Linked DNA regions of Homo sapiens: region 2 is linked to region 1. Evidence: promoter capture Hi-C in 16 types of primary human blood cells and fetal thymus (Javierre and others, 2016). All regions are on one chromosome and are shown on one strand. The core of a region is centred on a gene start or on the middle of the fragment in contact, and the rest is flanking DNA. Distances in the headings are between cores, read along the strand shown.

The links. Contacts are between HindIII fragments. The CHiCAGO score rates a contact against its expected background, and 5 or more counts as called.
Region 2: a fragment that was not itself captured here is called in contact with the fragment with the promoter of HEY2 in region 1 in 2 of 17 cell types (erythroblasts and megakaryocytes); the score reaches 6.0 in erythroblasts.

What each region holds. Positions count from the first base shown.
Region 1 is chr6:125,747,394-125,752,949 of GRCh38, reverse strand. HEY2 (hes related family bHLH transcription factor with YRPW motif 2) reads right to left here and starts at 3,318. Exons shown (of 5, transcript NM_012259.3): 1 at 3,091-3,318; 2 at 1,071-1,149; 3 at 860-943. The coding sequence starts at 3,173. It overlaps HEY2-AS1 (HEY2 antisense RNA 1), which reads left to right and starts at 3,525. Exons shown (of 5, transcript NR_183491.1): 1 at 3,525-3,991. RefSeq lists silencers at 3,100-3,809, 4,984-5,163. The HindIII fragment of the contact is 5,509 bases long and covers 1,852-5,556 here.
Region 2 is chr6:125,489,082-125,494,637 of GRCh38, reverse strand. No RefSeq gene overlaps it. Among named protein-coding and RNA genes, the nearest start is that of LINC02523, 180 kb to the left of the region's middle. The HindIII fragment of the contact is 264 bases long and covers 2,840-3,103 here.

The DNA.
Region 1 (5,556 bases), core at 2,069-4,568:
TTTTATAATGTTTGCAGATTCATGAAGTAAACAAACAAAATGGAATAAACAAACAACTGTTGTCTTATTGGAATTAAACTGAAAGTATTTTCAACAAGGACATGCTGCCATATCCTTTGAAAGATACTCTTAGAAATCTGTGTCATTAACCACTGCGGCAGGGGGAGAGCCATGACTTCTAAAACCACAAAAGATTTAAACATTTGGCTTTCTACTTTTCTAAGTGTGCAAAATCTTTTTCTTTCTTTCTTTTTTTGTAAAGGAATAGGTAACTATGAAAAGGGGCATTTATGATTAACTTCATTTTTACCAAACTTCTAAAAAGATGACCCAAATCAAATGGCATTCTACCAACCCAGGGATTAAAAATGAAAGCAAATGGCTTGGTAAATAAATTTTAGTGGTATTATCATTTAGGAAATAGAGCTAGAGATGTTACTTCTTGGGCTCTGATTGTTTTTTAATTAAAAATATTACATTTTAAAAAAATTTTGAGAAAAAAATGGTTTTTTTTTTTTTTTTGAAGGATACGGTATACAGCACAGTTTTAAATAAAACCACTACTGGTATTCATAGAAAGAACAGAGAAAGCATGAACACTGTTACCCTTAAGGGGAAAATAAGCTAAAGAATGGAAATGTTTTTCAACTTCATGATGGATTATGTTTTTAATAGTTTTGCCACAACAAAGCATTTTATTGAAATAGCTGCTCTGTGCCAGATCAGGGCACATACACTATTATTTTAATGAGCTTTAACAAGAACCCACATTCCCAGATGAGCGAATCAGATTGTGTTTGAGCTTTTTTTTGGGGGGTGGCGGGGTGGGTGGGGGGATTCTGGGGAGGGGATAGCTTACTTGTTTTTCAAAAGCAGTTGGCACAAGTCTTCTCAACTCAGATAAACTGTTATTTATCCGATCCCGACGCCTTTTCTCTATAATCTATCCAAAAGAAGCAAACAACAAAAGTTTATGAATTCACAAATGATAAAATTACTCAAATGAAAAAATGTAACTGTTACACAATAGTATAAGTTACATGAAATAAAAAGGGGGAAAAATCACATACCCCTCTCCTTTTCTTTCTTGCCATAATCTGAGATGTTGTTGTTGGAGAATTCAATCTAATCACAGAGCTAGTACTTTGCCTATGAAATAAGAAGAGTATGTCAGGTGCTGCATTAACATAACAATAGTTTCTTCTGGGTACTTGTGGCACCCATTAAATATTCAGAGTGATTGCACAGTTCAAGTCTGTGTTATTTTATTCTTAGTTCTTGTTTCACTCTTAACGGACTTTGCTTTCAGCCCGGCTGTCTCTTTTCAGGTAAAAATTACGCCTTAATTTGTAATCCAGATGCTAACCCATTGGCCAAAATGTCCCACAATTTTTACTTGAAAGTCTCCCAGTGAAATAATTACCGGCAGTTGGGCTGAGAAGTTAGATATTAGCATTTCCTAGTTCCACTCATATATTTTAAAGTCAACTAATCTCAAATAGCTTTCCTTCTCCCTCCTGTCAGGCACACTGAACAAAATAATGCCACTTTTTCAAATCAGGGTTATGTTAAGCACCACTATCAAACAGATGTGCAGTCGTCATACGTCAAACTCTTGTCTCTAGGTGCAAACTTTAAAATAAATAGAAGTTATCTTACTGTTTCAAAACTTCAGTTAGTCATATATTGCAACAGGAAAAAATTGACAAACTTGATGTTTTGCATACTAATCTTCCAAAAATATGCCCTAAATATGCCACTGATAGGAAAATTAAAACTCATTTTATTACTAGGTGAATGTTTTACTTTGAAAATGAAACTGTAGGTGTGTCTCAGACTTTAGGCTAAGCTTAAATCTCCAGAAGCTGCAATGCACCTTGGATTTACTAATGAAAATATATTTTTATATTGAAGGTTCAATCAAAGTATTATTTGGTCACATAATTTTTACAATCCTTTCTAGTTTGTATCTGTTTCTCTTCATAATTCATGGATACTATGCTTCTTTGTGTTCTCAAATTCCCCAGGTTCCTGTTATTTGTTCTCTTTCATTTTAGAAATGCTGCACACACCAGGTTGCTATTACCTCACCTTCTCACTTCTGGATCTTATTTCTGAATTACCTGTCCCCCTCATTTTCACCCCTTCTTTACGGGTTTCACCTTTCACGTGATAGCTTCTGTTTTTCAGACCTCATTTTTAAAGACGGCACAACAACACTTTAATGATCAGATACTTAAACCTTTGCTTTCGTGTAAATATCTTTGCTCTTGCAGATTTTGTGCTTTGCTTTGTATGTATTAGAATAACAATATGAAAGAAAACCAGTTTTCCAAAGGTAGGAAGAATTTCCCTCTTTGAGTGACAGCTGCAGATAAATAATTAAGGTGCTTCTGGGGATGCCAATTAGAAGCAATTATCATTTGACCCGCCTTGGCTCTAAAATGCCTCGGTAATCTCCCTCTGTCACAGGAAAGTGGAGGTCTGGCTTCTGTGATTACGACGCCGATCTCTTCCAGACTTGAGAACAAGCAGTCAAAGAAATGATGCCCTTTCCGATGCTTACATCTGTCACTCACTCTTGCGTTAGCCAAGTCACACACGGTCAACCTGCAAAGTTCAACCTACGTAGCCTTGACATCGCAGGTTGCTTTAATTCCTCCAAAAATCAAGTTGTGATTTTGGTATCTCTAAAAATCAAAAATCAAATTGTTTTTATTTTCTCCTGATCTATTTTGAAAGTGCCCCCAAATACGGTTTCAGTGGCTGGGACATCGCCTGTCGCCCAGACGCTGCCGTTCGCGCGTCCAACTGTGACAGCCAGGACCCTCCCTCGCCAACTCCTGCGCTCTGCCTTTCAGTGGCGTCTCCCATCCTGGCTACTCCACCCCTACGGTGAAAATCCACATCCCTTGCCCCATCCCAACTCACGCTCTGCGAGCGCCCACCACTCAAACTTTCTCAGGCCAAACTTTCCCTCTCTACCTAGATGCTGCGGAGACCAGCCTCGGGATTTCCAGGGAGCCACGCATTCACAAAGCTACCCCAAGCTCCCGAGCTGCGGGCCGCTCCCGCGGAGCCCGCGCTCACCCCGAGTAATTGTTCTCGCTCCCCACGTCGATGGTCTCGTCCATGTCGCTCTCGGAGGTCGTCTCCTCGCAGGGGCGCTTCATCCCGGCGAAGACCGCGCGGGGCACAGCCCGGCCGGAAGCTCGGACGCCGAGCGGGGCGCAGCACCCTGACGCCCGCCTCCTCCCTCCCCGGGCCTGGGCAGGCGCGGCTCCGGCGGCGGCGCGGTCTGCTCCTAGCGGCTCTTTCCCACGCCGCAACTCTGCTCGGCCGCAAGAGCCGGCGCCGGCCACGCCCCCCCCTCGAGCGGGTGGGGCCACCTCACCCGCCCCCGCGCACCGGCCCAGGCCTTCCGCCCGGCACCTCCCCCTCGCTGGTCGGCGTGGCTCGCGATTGGCTGGGCCAGGGGGCGGGGCCGCGCTCGCCAATGCCCGCCGCAAGGCTCCAGCCGAGGCGTGGGAACGCGGCCGCGGACCTGGTACCCCAGAGCAGCGAGCGGGTGGGGAGCAGCCGGGGCGAGAATGAGCGCAATCTTGCTAACCCCTGCGGAGGGAGCGCGCGGGCGCCAACGCGGGCGCGCGGGGGCGGGCCCTGGACCTGGACCTTGGGTTTCGGCCCTCCTCCGCGCCCCGCGGTCTCGCGGGCGAAGTTTCAGTCCTGAGTGTAAAGAATAACCCCAAGCGCGTGGCTAAGTGCGAGCAGGCGCGTGTGACGTCGGGAGGCGCCGCGGCTCCTCGGCCGCCCCACTCGGTGGTCCCCTGTCTGGATCCAAACTGCTGACTGGCTGACCCGAGTGGTCACATTTGCCCTCTGGGGCTTTTGAAAACCTTAAATCAAAATTGCTTTTGAATCTGACAACTCCTGAGGCTACTTTCGCGGCCTCGGGGCTGTTTCATATAAGGACGCGAGTTTTCCTGATCAGGTCTGTCGGCCACGTTACGATTTCCAATTTGCGATCCATCAGTTACTTCCATTGGGTCTTCAGCCCCCAGGGACTGTGGATCCTAGACCCCGCGGAGAAGCCCGTGGACTGGAGCTGTGTCAGCTCTGATGGTAGGAAAGACTAGATCAATGACGCGGGCATTTCAGGACATAATCGTATATTTTCAAGTTCGAGTTTTTCGGGCTTGGATTATCCAGATAATTGCCTCCAGTCTCCTCCAGTCCCCCTGGTGTATGCACTCGCAGCCGCAGAGTTAGAGTCCGGGAGGTGAAGATTGGCGCTTGGAAATTAGATTTGGTTTCTAAAGTATGAATTCGTGTCCAACAGTTCGTGCCTTGGACAACGTGGGTTGTATAAAACTCAAGCTGTGTGTTTAAAACAGGTTTTCTAGCTGCTGGTTCTCTCCAAGTTATGTAGGACTTTTGAACTGGCCACCCCGCTGTGCGTCTGCGAGGGCAGGGACTGAGCGAGACCCAGCCAGGGGCGCCGGGAGACTGGCGGCGGCTGGGTTGGGGTCCAGCCGGAAACCACACGTTGGCAGGGCCGCTTGGTCAGTAGTGGAGAGAGCCTCTGAGAAAGGGCCGTCTATCGATCCCCAGACCCCTCCGTCACGGAGGGATTCATAGCTTCCTGGGGATCGGCCCAGGGCGTCCCTTTGACACTCCGTTCTCTGTCCACACAAGCCCGGCGCGGGGCGGGGAGAAGAGGAAAGGACGCGACTGGGAAAGACGGGACCCTGGCGGGGTTTGGCCCGGGGGAGAGCGGGAAGGAGCCCGGTCGGCGCGGAGGACCTGCGGCCAGCGTGCTAAGCCCTTATTAGAACAGAAACCCCTTTCCCCCCACACTCTCATCTCTTTTGCGCGGTCCCCACCGCCATGCCTTCAATAACCTTGTGAATAGAAACCCGAATCGTTCCATCTTGGCTTCTGAAACTTAACCCCAGGCAAAGCACACACTCGGCGGGGCCAGGTGGGGCTGGATGGGGTCCGCGCCCGACGGCGGGGCCGCGGGGGTCGGTGAACCCCAGCTCCCCTGTCGGCCTCAGGGCGGATGGCTGGGTCGGCGCGGGGTTCGGGGCCTCCGATCGGCTGCACGAGGGCGGGCCAGGACCCAGACCCCGTCCCCGCTCCGGCCCCGCAATCCAGCGGGTGACGAGCCTGACGCGCGCCGGTCGCCTGCCACCTCCCGCCCCGAGCGCCCTGGGCCAGTACCTCCCGGCCGCAGGTGAACGCTCCGCGGCCCGCCAGGCTCAAGCTCGACCGTCACAACTTTCCGTGAGGGCTGCACGTTTTTCTGAATTCAAATGCCTGCAGGTGCAACTCATGTTTGCCACACGGGCAATTAGCGGGCGCGTCCAAACGCCTGAGGCAAAACCTGAGATCATCACTGAAAAAAAAAAATCTAACAGTTCTTTGCCACTATACTAGTGTATTTAATTATGATTGCGAAAAATTGCAGAGGGAAACGATTTGCTGGCAATTAAGTAGCAACTGGTTAAAGTTTTTTTTCAATTTGTCTTTGAAGACAACTGCTGTACTATGTAT
Region 2 (5,556 bases), core at 1,722-4,221, 260 kb after region 1:
AGATTGAGAAAGGGCGAAACAGCACACCAGTCACATTTTGTTCTGGTATTTCTCACACAGATAGCTTTTTCAGAACTTAGGATTCTTGTTGATTTCAAAAGACAGGATGCTGACTTAAACAATTCAGACTAGTTATTCTGTCTTGCCAAAGGACGATCCACATGGCCTGAGATCATTGAGGGTAAAATGTTTGCCTTCTAGGGAAAATTCTGCCTGAGGTTTACTGTGACAGATGGAAGAAAGTGATATTGTCTTTGTTTATAAAGTGCTCACTTACCTGTGTTAGAAGCAAAACCAGCTCTTGTAAACAAATTGACACCCCAATGCCACAGGTAATTATTATCAGTTTTATTGAACAGTCTTTTCATTGGTATCTGGGGACTCGAAGCCCCAGTGGACCCAAGATCCCACTTACGTGATGGTCCCAAGGCCTGAGATACAGGCAGGGTTGGAAGTTCCACTTGCCTGTGGTCAGTCCATTCAGGCGGGTCATCCCCAGACCACATGCTGCGGTTGGTTTTCTGAGCCCTACAACTTCAGATCATTAAAGCAGTGCCTCTCAAGGATGTTCTTGTGGGCCAGTGGCCCTGGAACTTTCTAGGCCATAAACCTGCAGGAGGACTGCTCTGTTATCAAACCCAGATCTGGAAGCCTTTCCTCATCCCTAGACCCACAGACACTCCTGGGCTTCACTTTACTCTCAGCACCTAACATTCTTTCCTCCTCTTTCTAAGGCTGAATACCCTAAATCTACACATGCCTTCTAATGGAGGCTGCCATCAACCCATCACCACCTGTTTGAGGGAGAGCTGCCTTGAGTGCCTTAAAGGTGAAGACAAGTGAAACAAGCTATAATGGGTATTCTGCTCTCTTAGTTGGAGTGATGTGCAATTTCTTGCCTACACTACAGCTGGAGAAGTGAATACAGTTCTGTTTAATTAAAATCATCCTCTCTACTTTCACCATTCTAAACTCTTTGCTTTTCTGAGAACATTCGGGAATGTACTATGCTCTTTTTACCTTTGATTATTTGAACTTATGATTCCATCATTATTTGCATCATAATTAAAATTTATGGAATATTTGCTATATGCCTGATGTTTTCTTAAGAATATTACATCATGTGTTCATTTAAACTTCATAAAACCTTTTGGGTAGTTATTATTGATATGGTCATTTTAGATAAGGACACTGAAGTTCAAGGGATTGTGTGACTTGCCCAAGGCTTCTTACTAGCTAGCTAGTAGTGGCACAAAAGTCAAACCTGGTTGTTGTGACAGGGGTGCTTCCTGCAACCCAGCCTCGCTGACTCTTACTCTTCCTTTGGATCTATTCAAGCTTTCCACGACCCCACTCTAGGACCCCTCTTCCATTCTCCCATAGCACCCTCTATCCATCATGCTGCTGGCTTTTATCTTGCACATGTTTTTCACCTCTTGCTTCTGCCTTGGGCCTGTGTTGGAGAGGGGTACTTATGTATATCAGGAGGTTCACAACATTTCTTTAATATTTTTTGCCTTTGGGATATCTGTGATTTTATACTGTAGTTGCGTAAGATGTCACGTTTTTAGCTGGACGGATGAAATGTGCTGAAACTGCTTGGATTCTATGTGGTTACCTTAGAACATGAGGTGTTTTGAAAAAGGTAGGAGATGTTTGAAAGAAGAACAAGTGGAGAGGCAGGGGGTGGTGTATAGGTTTGGGTGTTTGAAAGTCCAGATTATCTGGGACCACTATAATTCCTTTGCTATTTGAAGCTGGGCTGCTTGGCATGGTATAAATGCTGGGTTTAGAAGTGAGAGAACAGGATCCTGATTCCAGATCTATTTCTCACTGGCTGTGGGACGTTGAACAGATCATTTTAAGTTCTCTGAGTATCAATTTCCTTTAAGAACTTTTCTTTAGTTCCAATCCTAGAACTATATAATCTTGCTTGAAAAATATAGTTAATAATGCTGAGTAATGTTCAGATAATTCTGAACAAAAAGAAAGAAAAATATTGCTTGCTTTCTATTCTGTAGTCTCACATAGGATAACTATTCTTACACAACACTTCGAATTCTTTCATTATCGTTAAAAAAATTAAAATTGTGAATGGCCTGGAGGGCAAAAGAATATGTTTACTAATGACTGCTTTTAGGTGCCTTTGCATTTGAAGTTCATGCAAAAAGCAAAAAAGTGCCTTTATAGGCCTATTTAGCAGTCACTCCAAAGTGCTGAGTATGCACTTTATAGCCCTGTGATTTTTATCAGCCATATGATCCGAGTTGACAATAGCAGATTTAGCAAACTTGGTGTTTCACAGAGGTGTGGGCAGCATTCTAGATTCTGGTCTCCCATAGGCTAACTGACCCCTTCCTTTTTGGATTTTATGTACAGTTTCTCTATTAACAGTAAGCCAATATTCTGAGAAAGCCCGTAAAACAAAAAGTCCAGGACGTGACTTGGACAGATTGCTGACTGCATTTCTCAGGCTGGATTTTATGAACTCCTCCACGTATGACAGTGTTTTGTTTTGTTTTTAATGTATTCAGTGGTAGAGGAATACTGAACCAAACCATTGTGGTGAGGCTCACAAAGATTTAATAGAGTCCTCAGAAGGTCACAGAGAGGGATTCATCATGTGACAAAGACTGAGAGTCAAATTCTGTATATTCTAAATAGGATGCAGTTGTTAAAAATTGAGTTTATTGAGGCAAAAATGCTTGTGTTTATTAGCAGGTCACGCGGTCAGATGAAAAGCTATCTCAGGTGGACTACTGTTATGATGAAGTATGAGAGGAAAGGAAAATCATCATTGGGATGAATAGTATCAAACATCACCACACCCCTACAAGCTTCGCCAGAGACCCAATTCCTGGGAGCTTAAAAATCTAGAGGAGTTTTAAAATAACTTCTTTCAGAAACCAATAATCCATTCAGTCAAGAAATGTAATGGGTTCACTTTCTGCCTGAATATTGTTGGAGTCTACAAAGATCGTCAGAGTCACAATATTTCTTTTTCAAATTTTCAACCAACCACCCTGTTTGCGGAAGACAAGGTTTAGTATTTTGCTGGAGTATTTTTATGTAGCATAAACTTGAAACTTACTTTTAAGAAGCTTGAAATTTATCTGGAGAGAAAGCCTACATTTAAAAAACAACCTTTGCTATTCTTTGAGTATATACTGTTTGCCAGCACTACCAAATAGTATGGAAACAAGTGCAAATGTGGGGCAGACTGAACCCATGAGCTTTCATAAAGACACAGAATAAAGAAATGGGGTTTGTTAATAATGATGTTTTGGAAAATGAATTTTGAATATCTTTTATTCATCAGAATGAACATCAAATATTGCAAGGAACATAGAAGATTAATATATAGCAGTGAATATATTTATGCCACTTTCTACCACTGAACCTCACCCTCTTCAGAAAGTGTCCTTTGTCCTCCATAAACACACTGTCCTTCCATCCCTCTGCTTTTGCCCCTCTTCTGTGCTTAGAGTCGCTGCCTGGAAATCTGGACTAAATGGTAAACTGGTCTTAGTGTGGATTTGATTTTTGTCCTTTTCATTCAAAGGAATGGCACTTTGTGGATAAAGGGATTTATTTTCTGAGTCACTTGCTTCCAGACTAGACCATGGCCACTTCCTTCTCAATGGCCATGTTCTTCCAACTCAGACTCTGGTGACCACGTGATGGAGGAAGCCAGCACCCTCCCACCAGCACCAGGTAATCTCACCCTTTGGAATCTGCTGCAGCTTTCTGCGTGTCTCCTCTATCTCTGCCAGGCTGCTGAGGCCCTGATAAGGGGGTCCTTATCTGATCCCTGGAGTCCGTAGTGAATCTCTTGCCTTCATTCTGATTCCCTTCATTTTGCCTGCACCTCTCTCCTCAGCATTCGCCTCATCTTGTTCTCCTGACCAGACAGTGCAATTTCACCTAAGCCATTCCCAGGCTTCATCCAGCAGTCTCTGTACCGGGAATGGTCCTTTCCTTATTTTTTCTTCTTCCTAGAACCTCCCTGCTCTGTGTAAAAGTTGCTCTTTTTTTAATTTTTTTATTTTTTGAGACGGAGTCTCTCTCTGTTGCCCAAGCTGGAGTGCAGTGGCACAATCTCGGCTCACTGCAACCTCCACTTCCCAGGTTCTAGCAATTCTCCTGCCTCAGCCTCCTGAGTAGCTGAGATTACAGGCCCACGCGGCCATGAGCGGCTAATTTTTTGTATTTTAGTAGAGATAGGGTTTCACCGTGTTGCCCAGGCTAGTCTCGAACTCCTGAGCTCAGGCAATCCATCTGCCTCAGCCTCCCAAAGTTCTAGGATTGCAGGTGTGAGCCACTGTGTCCGGCCTGATCTTCTTTTTTAACAGTGCCTCTGACACTGAAAACCTCAGAGAAGATGTTAAATTTAGCAGTCATTTGTGTGCTTGCTGGTATATTTATTATTCTGTGCACTTTCCTCTTGTACAGTGAGGTGTGTGGTTATGATCTCTGCATTGTTATGTGCCCATATTGAATTTTTGATTTTCAACTTCTAGGGAGTAGGAGCTCTGTCTACTTGACTTCCTGTTAAAATGTTTTTAGCTACACTGTGTGTATTTGGGCAATTGACTCTTTTGGCTATTAGAACCAATGTAACATAATTTAAGGAAAAATAAGATGATATTAATTTTTGGACCGCTTTTATGAAGTTCATTTATTTTTCTTTCTGTATTTTGGCTAGCATGTGTGATTTTTATGGTAGAGTCATACAAATTCTAAATAATTAAATAGAATAGTCTGAAGTGATGAAAATGTTAGATTACATTCATTTTTAAATGAAAACAGTTGTATCACTTTCAAGCATGTATAGTGCTATGACTCATTTACAAAGTATTAACAATATTTCTTCAAGGAGGCTTATAATATTAACATAACAGTCAGGAGGCCATATATTATATTGAGCACAGAAAGACCTTGATGTGGATCCCAGTATTGCCACGTGAAAACTTTATGGCCCTGGACAAGTCCTTCATCTCCCAGGTTGTGCATGTCTTCTTCCAAATCAGTACTGAGGATTCTGTGAGAAAATGTAAACAAAGCACTTAACCTATATGTACTGAGCAGATGATAAGTATATCAGCCCATTATCACACTGCTATAAATAACTACCTGAGACTGGGTAATTTATGAAGAAAACAGGTTTAATTGACTCACTGTTCTGCAGGCTGAACGGGAAGCATGGCTGGGAGGCCTCAGGAAACTTACAATCATGATGGAAAGCAAAGGAGAAGCAAGCACATATTCACATGGTGACAGGAGAGAGAAAGCGCGAAGGGGGAAATGCCACACACTTTTAAACCATCAGATCTCATAAGAACTCACTATCATGAGAACAACAAGGGGGAGTCCTGCCCCCTGTGATCCAATCACCTCCCAGCAGGTCCCTCCCCCAAATTAGGAATTAAAATTCAACATGAGATTTGAATAGGGACACAGAGCCAAACCATAACAATAAGCATTAGTAAAACTTACTGAGTATTAATATTTTAACTTGTCTTTTTGAAAAGATGCTTCAAAAGCAATTAATTTCTG